Regions from separate parts of the Homo sapiens genome. Here region 1 is linked to region 2. Evidence: promoter capture Hi-C in 16 types of primary human blood cells and fetal thymus (Javierre and others, 2016). All regions are on one chromosome and are shown on one strand. Each heading gives the region's core, a stretch centred on a gene start or on the middle of the fragment in contact. The rest is flanking DNA. Distances are from core to core; before and after follow the strand shown. Region 1 holds the start of PSMB5 (proteasome 20S subunit beta 5). Region 2 overlaps DAD1 (defender against cell death 1).

Evidence for each region. Contacts are between HindIII fragments. The CHiCAGO score rates a contact against its expected background, and 5 or more counts as called.
Region 1: a contact is called between the fragment with the promoter of PSMB5 here and a fragment that was not itself captured in region 2, in 1 of 17 cell types (neutrophils). The highest score is 6.0, in neutrophils.

The regions. Positions count from the first base shown.
Region 1 is chr14:23,033,283-23,037,323 of GRCh38, reverse strand. PSMB5 (proteasome 20S subunit beta 5) reads left to right here and starts at 2,424. Exons shown (of 3, transcript NM_002797.5): 1 at 2,424-2,640; 2 at 3,650-3,956. The coding sequence starts at 2,443. RefSeq lists enhancers at 1,950-2,244, 2,029-2,698, 1,499-2,698. The HindIII fragment of the contact is 18,957 bases long and covers 1-4,041 here.
Region 2 is chr14:22,567,573-22,571,649 of GRCh38, reverse strand. All of the region lies in intron 2 of DAD1 (defender against cell death 1), which reads left to right. Among named protein-coding and RNA genes, the nearest start is that of LINC02332, 13 kb to the right of the region's middle. RefSeq lists an enhancer at 634-1,356. The HindIII fragment of the contact is 9,980 bases long and covers 1-4,077 here.

The DNA.
Region 1 (4,041 bases), core at 1,175-3,674, 470 kb before region 2:
CGAGACTCCATCTCAAAAAAATAAAATAAAATAAGGAGAATATTTCAGCAATTCCAGAATGAGGACATAAGAAGCCAAAGGTGGTATCAGTTGTAATGAAAAAGAATGTGAGAAACACTGAAGTGGAAATAATCAACAGGACCATGCAACTAACTGGATATGAAGGAAAGAAAAAAGCTGTAAAAGATAAGCAAGGACTTCAAGCCTTTTTGACTAGAAGACCACTGCTGTCATTCTTTCAGGTGTTCATTTGGCAAATATGTATTAAGCATACAGTGGGTACAGAAATGAATAGTAAGTACTTGTATTTAAAAGCTCACAATCCGGTAGGAGATAAATGTAATTTCTAACCAGGTAAAATGTAAAAGGGCCTTAAGAGAGGTACACATGCTATCAGTGGCAGAGTGAAAAACCACTGGAAGGAGGCAGAAAGACTAGTTGCACTGCAGGGGTGACTGCAAAATAATATATGCTCAGTAAACAGACGCACTCCGCATTTTCCACATCATCCAAGTGTGAAACACAAAGATCTCCTGTTTAATTCTATTCTGATGATTGGGCTTGGAAAGGGTTGCCAATTTCAGCATTAAAAATACAGCATAGGCCAGGCGCAGTGGTTCACACCTGTAATCCCAGCACTTTGGGAGGCCGGGGCAAGCGGATCACCTGAGGTCAAGAGTTTGAGACCAGCGTGGCCAATATGGTGAAACCCCATCTCTACTAAAAATACAAAAATTAGCCAGGCGTGAGGCCGGGCACGGTGGCTCATGCCTGTAATCCCAGCACTTTGGGAGGCCGAGGTGGGTGGATCACGAGGTCAGGAGATCAAGACCATCCTGGCTAACAAGCGGATCACCTGAGGTCAAGAGTTTGAGACCAGCGTGGCCAATATGGTGAAACCCCATCTCTACTAAAAATACAAAAATTAGCCAGGCGTGAGGCCGGGCACGGTGGCTCATGCCTGTAATCCCAGCACTTTGGGAGGCCGAGGTGGGTGGATCACGAGGTCAGGAGATCAAGACCATCCTGGCTAACACGGTGAAACCCCGTCTCTACTAAACACACACACACACACACACACACACACACACACACACACACACACAAATTAGCCTGTTGTGGAGGCAGGCGCCTGTAATCCCAGCTACTCGGGAGGCTGAGGCAGGAGAATCGCTTGAACCTGGGAAGCAGAGGTTGCAGTGAGCAGAGATCGTGCCACTGTGTTCCAGCCTGGGGGACACAGCAAGACTTGGTCTCAAAAAACAAACAAACAAACAAACAAAAACAATACAGCATATGCAGAGTCTGCTGGGGGAAAGATGGGGCCGAACTGGGCATCAGAGGAAAGTGGAATTTCGGTGTTGATAGATGTTGCTGCTAGAATCCAACAAGGAAGGCCAGAGACTGACTTCATAGAACCATAAAGCAGGAGGCAACATTTCATACATATGCACACTTCCCGGTTTGTTATAGTTCCCAAAAGATTTGAAAAATGAAGGTGGGTGGAGGGAGGAAGAGGCAATGAAATATAGTATGTTCCTGAATAAAAGGCATCATCTTAGCAAGTTGAAGTTAGAGAATCTCTTGGTACATATTTATGCAGTCTCAACCGTCCTCCCGTCTCTGAGATGGTAAATTACTACTGACACTTATTCAGGTCTGAACTGAGAATCTAGTTTGTGGATTAACTGGACCCTTTGCTTTTTCTTCTTCCATCTGCCTTTTAGGCAATTCATTACTTATTCGAATTTCCACCAGAAGGTAGGAGTCAAGAGAACGAATATTGGATATTAATAACCGGTTACTGTTAAAGAAGGGTTGCTGTATGGCGACTGACAACAAGAGGTATAGCACTTTTATTTTGTTGCGTTGTTTTACCACTAATTGCTGTGGTTTAACTAATATAGGGAAATGGCCTCAGAATGGATCATTATTTTACCCAATTTTAGAAGGTGCCCTTAAACAAGATGGCAACCTCAGGCGCGTTAACAAGGTGCTGAAGCAGCAGCGATGTAACCTGTTGCTTGGACACCAGGCTGGAGTGGGAGGACTCACCGCTAAGGGTTCAGAACCGATTTTCAACCAGTCACGCCCTTCTCAAAGATGGCCGACCTCACTTCCCTTACGCAACATGGACGTTTTCAGTCACTTCCTGTGATTTTGAGGTTATTCTGATCCAGGACTACTTGCATGACCAAAGCCAAGATGGCAGGTACGTCCTTTTAGAATTTAAGGTTAGTGAAGCCATCTATTTCCCCGACCCCCTTCAGTGAAAATGGTCTTTCGCATCTGGCTCTTCTTTTTGGAGGCGTGCTTGCCAGCAGTCAAAATGGCTCCATTCCGGAATAGATTTAATAGGAAGTGAAGCTGTGACGGCGAGGCGTTGCCCGGCCTATCTTTGCTAGGCGTTCTCAGAATTAGTTCTTTCTGCCCACACTAGACATGGCGCTTGCCAGCGTGTTGGAGAGACCGCTACCGGTGAACCAGCGCGGGTTTTTCGGACTTGGGGGTCGTGCAGATCTGCTGGATCTAGGTCCAGGGAGTCTCAGTGATGGTCTGAGCCTGGCCGCGCCAGGCTGGGGTGTCCCAGAAGAGCCAGGAATCGAAATGCTTCATGGAACAACCACCCTGGCCTTCAAGGTGTGGAGCCAGCCCCCTTGCCAGGCTGAGTACTGAACGCCCGCGACTTGCCTGGCCTCCCAGCCTGACCGGAGTTTGCGGTGGCCTTGGCCACCAACCCAGGCGGAGGCTGGGTCCTCTCGTTCGGACCGCAGCAGTTTTGCTGTCTCATTGGCCCAGGAGGCCCCTGTCTTTGCTCTGGTTGGAAAGGGTGGCGGTGGGGCCGGGGGTAAGTCGGGGGAGGAAGGTGAGGCCTCTTGGGTTGATTCCTAGGCGACCCCAGGTTGCTGCTGTTCAGGATCTTCTAGCTGGGAAAGGCCGCAACAACAATGAATCTTGGCCGAGGGAAGGCTATTGTAAACGTTTACCAAAGTTTTGGAAACTGGGCGGCCCCTCAAGGCAGGGGTAACTGAAACTGGCATGAAGGGGAAGCGTGGTGAGGGTAAGCATTGTACTAAGAATCAGACATTTGGGGTTCCTTGCCCAGCTCTGCAATAACTAGCTCTAGATTGAGAAATCATTTGATTTCATTGAACCTGTTTCCTCATCTATAAAATGATTTGTTTTTTTTTTTTTTTTGAAACAGGGCTTTTCGCTGTCGCTCAGGCTGGAGTGCAGTGGCTCCAGCGCCTCAGCCTCCAGAGTAGCTGACACTATAGGCACACACCACCACGACAGGCTAAGTTTTTTTACTTTTTGTAGAGATGGATCTCCCTGTGTTGCCCAGGCTGGTCTCCAGCACCTGGCCTCAAGCGGTCCTCCCGCCTTGGTCTCCCAAAATGCCTGGGTTACAGGAGTGAGCCACCACGCCCATCCTATAAAATGAATTTAATATGGGTTATATCCATGTCAAGGGATTGATGTGAAGCTCGGGTGACATTAATATATGGTGAAGTATAGAAGTATACTGTGAAGTATAAAAGGACGGAGAAAGAGATGTGCTGGGTTTGGATTGATGCAAAAAGAAGTATGTAGGAGTGTTTTTGTGGTCTTATGTGGCCTGTTTTGTGTTTTCCTCTGATCTTAACAGTTCCGCCATGGAGTCATAGTTGCAGCTGACTCCAGGGCTACAGCGGGTGCTTACATTGCCTCCCAGACGGTGAAGAAGGTGATAGAGATCAACCCATACCTGCTAGGCACCATGGCTGGGGGCGCAGCGGATTGCAGCTTCTGGGAACGGCTGTTGGCTCGGCAATGTCGAATCTATGAGCTTCGAAATAAGGAACGCATCTCTGTAGCAGCTGCCTCCAAACTGCTTGCCAACATGGTGTATCAGTACAAAGGCATGGGGCTGTCCATGGGCACCATGATCTGTGGCTGGGATAAGAGAGGCCCTGGTGAGTTAAGCTGCAACCACATGATCCTTGGGCTGACACTACAGTGAGGAGGGGTTGGATGGACAGATGAATTAAAGGGCTTGGT
Region 2 (4,077 bases), core at 1,078-3,577:
TAAAAAAAAAAAAAAAAAAAAAAAGAGCCCCTTGCTAGAAATCTTACAACTAATGTATCTATCCAGGTGATCAAGAAAGACTCAATATTTTTTATTTTTTAGACTATACAAATGAAAATACAAAAGCAAAAATTCTCCCAGTGAGCTTCTGACCCCCAGAAATCCATGCACACCTGAAATGATCAGTTTTTGTTGTGTAGGTGGCGGCATATTTTTGAATGAATCCATGACAGAAAGAAGCTCAGTGGATTTCAGTATTTAAAAATGTATATACTTTAGTTTTTTCCATGTTTGTTCTTCTGTGTTTCTTTGTGAAATTCTTTTTTTTTTTTTTTTGAGACAGAGTCTTACTGTCTTGCCCAGGCTAGAGTGCAGTGGTGCAGTCTTGGCTCACTGCAACCCTGCCTCCCGGGTTCAAGCAATTCTCCTGCCGCAGCCTCCCCGAGTAGCTGGGACTACAGGCACTTGCCCGGCTAGTTTTTGTATTTTTAGTAGAGATGGGGTTTCACTCTGTTGGCTAGGCTGGTGTTGAACTCCTGTCCTCGTGATCCACTCGCCTTGGCCTCCCAAAGTGCTGGGATTACAGGCGTGAGCCACTGCACCTGGCCTGTGAAACTCTTTTTTAAAAAAAAAAAAAAAAATCTCAGTCCATCTCAGGTGTTCTGAAGGGTAATGAGGAAAAGAAGGACAGAACTGTATTGGATCACAGTTTGAGAATTAAAGTTCCTGATGAATTGGGCCCTGGGTCAGAAGGAAGGGTGAACTGGGCCCAAAGGGACAAAACCTTGCTTGAAAATGTGCTCAGCTCCCAGGGAGATAGTTGCCAAATGCCTGTGCCTTGTTAGCATTGTTTTGTTTTTATAATGGAGACCATTCTCTCACAAGTCTTAAAAAATTCAGTGTTTGATCCTAGCTGGAACAAGGGGGCTACAGGGTTGGGCAGAACATTTTAAACTCTGACTGGCAGCACTGTTTACAAACATGAAATTATGTTGGCTTTTCGAATTCAGTTAAAGTATAGTAATCTAGAAAATTACCTCGGGAAGGGGAACTTGATGTTATTCTGTGGGCTTTGCTGCCACCTAGTGGATGGTATGTTTCATGTGTTGAGCGGCTACTACAAAACATGAGGAGTTGAGTTTGGGGGAAGAAGCTACTGATACCTGTGTTAAAAAACCTAGTTTCTTTCCAGTCATTGGGGGGCAGCAGAGGTCCAGGAGGGTTTAGATGCTGGGTTGGGGGTTGCTTTACATTCTGGCCAGAAGTGGGCAATGTCGAGTTAGGAACAAAAGGGCATAGAACCCTAAAGTGGCCCTAGATTTTGTTGTGTGGGGGAAGACCAAGACTGTGCACATAGACCCGCAGGTTTCCCGTTTGATTTCTTTTTTTCACCTCCTTAGTTTGAGAGCTTCTTTTTTTGGTTTGTTCTACGTCTTTTATTCTCAATGGTGACCTCCCACGCAATAATCTTTAATTTTTTGTTGGTGGAGGGGCCCATTTAGTTTTTATTTCATTTTCTCTTTGATATTTCCACCTTATATTGAATTAGGTCCTGCCGCCAAATAAGCTCTCTCAGAGGGAACTGTCCTACATTTGTAGGAAATCTGAGGTAGTCACATCATAACTTTTTTCAACTCATTTTTCTCTGTTTAGAAGGTGAGATTAATTATATATTTTTTTATGTGCTGGGGTCTCGCTACGTTGCCCAAGCTGGGAACTCCCTGGGGTCAAGTGATCCTCCTGCCTGAGGCTTCTGTGTAGCTGGACCTACAGGTGTGTCACAGTGCCTGGCTCTGAGATTAGTTCTTTACCTTTCATTCTTAAAACTTTGAATCTACTTATTTTATTTGCTAAAAAGTGCTAATTGATGACTTTACTTGTTTATTGAACTCTATTTTATATTTGGTGTATTTAAGGCTACCAAAGAAAAAAGAATATCGAAATAGATTTATATTTATGAATTTCATTGCTGCCCTAACTTACTGCCTTATTTTCTCCATCCTCCCAGCTTGGATGACTCCTATTCCAAGTCATTCCCACCCCTCAGGTTGCATAGGAGCCCTTAGTCTACTGCATTCCTCCAGTGCTGCACTTATCACATTGTTATGAAACTATTCATTCACTTTCTTCTCTCTCCCACTGGACTCAATTGTGAACAGTAACAGTGTGTGTTTGTTGAATGAGTGTATGAATGAATAAACCTTTTTTTTTTTTTTTGAGACGGAGTCTCGCTTTGTTGTCCAGGCTGTAGTGCAGTGGCATGATCTTGGCTCACTATAACCTCCGCCTCCTGGGTTTAAGCAGTTCTCCTGCCTCAGCCTCTTGAGTAGCTGGGACTACAAGTGTGTGCTCCCACGCCTGGCTAATTTTTGTATTTTTAGGAGAGACATGGTTTCACCATGTTGGCCAGTATGGTCTCTATCTTTTGACTTTGTGATCTGCCTACCTTAGCCTCCCAAAGTGCTGGAATTACAGGCATGAGCCACTGTGCCCGGCCAAATAAACACTTTTTAACTGCAAGAAAAAGTTATGTTATTAAGTTACTTGGATGCTAAAACATGGAAAGTGGTACGAAAGAAAAAAAGCCAAGGCAAAGATTCATAGGAGAGGCTGTGGGGTGGGGAAGAGCATGAGACAAGAAGTCAGAGGAGGGGCTGGTGCGGTGGCTTAGGCCTGTAATCCCAGCACTTGGGGAGGCCAAGGTGGGAGGATCGCTTGAGCCCAGGAGTTTGAGACCAGCATGGGTGATATAGCAAGACCTTGTCTCTACCAAAAATCAAAAGAATTAGAGGGGCGTGGTGGCGTGTGCCTGTGGTCCCAGCTACTCAGAAGGCTGAGGTGGAAGGATTGCTTGAGCGTGGGAGGTCACGGCTGCAGTGAACTGTGATCATGCCACTTGCACTCCAGCCTGAGTGACAGAGTGAGAACCTGTCTCAAAAAAAAAAAAAAAAAAATCAGAAGACTTGTATTGTAGGCTTTGCTCTGTTAACTAGTTGAATGGACAAATAAACTTACCTCTGAGCCTCAGTTTCTCTGTCTGTGTTGTGAGAGGATTGGTCTGGATGTTCATCAAAGTCTCTTGCCACTGTTAATGCCTCTCAGCATGATTCTTGATGGTTCTTTTGTGTTTGAGGAGGATTGTACTGTTTTTGTTGATCCTCATTTGGGCTTTGCTTTCTGTTTTCTCCTTAATCGTTGCTTTTTATTCATATTTTCAGATTCCCATTATCCATTTATAGGAGGCAGAAAGTTAAATGATTATAACAAGATGCACATATTTGTATGAAGCCTTTTACAAAAAGTAAACATTTGTAAAATGTCTTCTAGTTCCCACGTTAACAGGCTTGTAGGATTCACATACATTCCACATATACTTTTACATACATCAGCTCATGTGATCCTTCCTTCCTACCCAGTGATGTGGAGACAGACAAATAGTAGTATTCCTATTTTACACTTGAGGTAATTACACCTTGGTGAAACTTTAGTTGATGTATCCAGGCCCTGGAACTAATAAGTGACTGAGGGGGAACTGGATAACAGACATTTGGACTCTAAACCTTTATATTCCTTCCTGTTATGTTTAGGACTCTCAGATGATGGCTTTATATATATGTCATGTTAGAGGGTTTTCATTAAAAATATTAAACTTTTCTTTTTAAGAAATTTTTATTTATTTTAAATTTTCATCAGAGCCATCAGACTGGATTCTTTTCTTTTTTAAATGGGAAAAATTTGGCAGAGATTGATAGGAAAGGATGAAGGCCGGCTATCTCAAATGTTTCTGCATAGTTGGCCATACTTAATATGGTCCAGGAGAAATGGAGGAGAATGCAGGTCAGGAGACCTGACTTTGGCTAGGGAGGGTGATCCTGGACCAGCACTGTCCAACAGAGCTTTTTGCAGTGGGGAAACATTCAGGGTCTGCACCGCCCATTATGGTAACCACTAGCCACATGTGGTTATTGAACATTTGAAATGTGGCTAACAGACTGAAGAACTGAATTTTTAATTTAACTTTGACTAAGTTTAAATAGTCACCTGTGTCTAGTGGCTGTGGTGTTGGACAGCACAGCT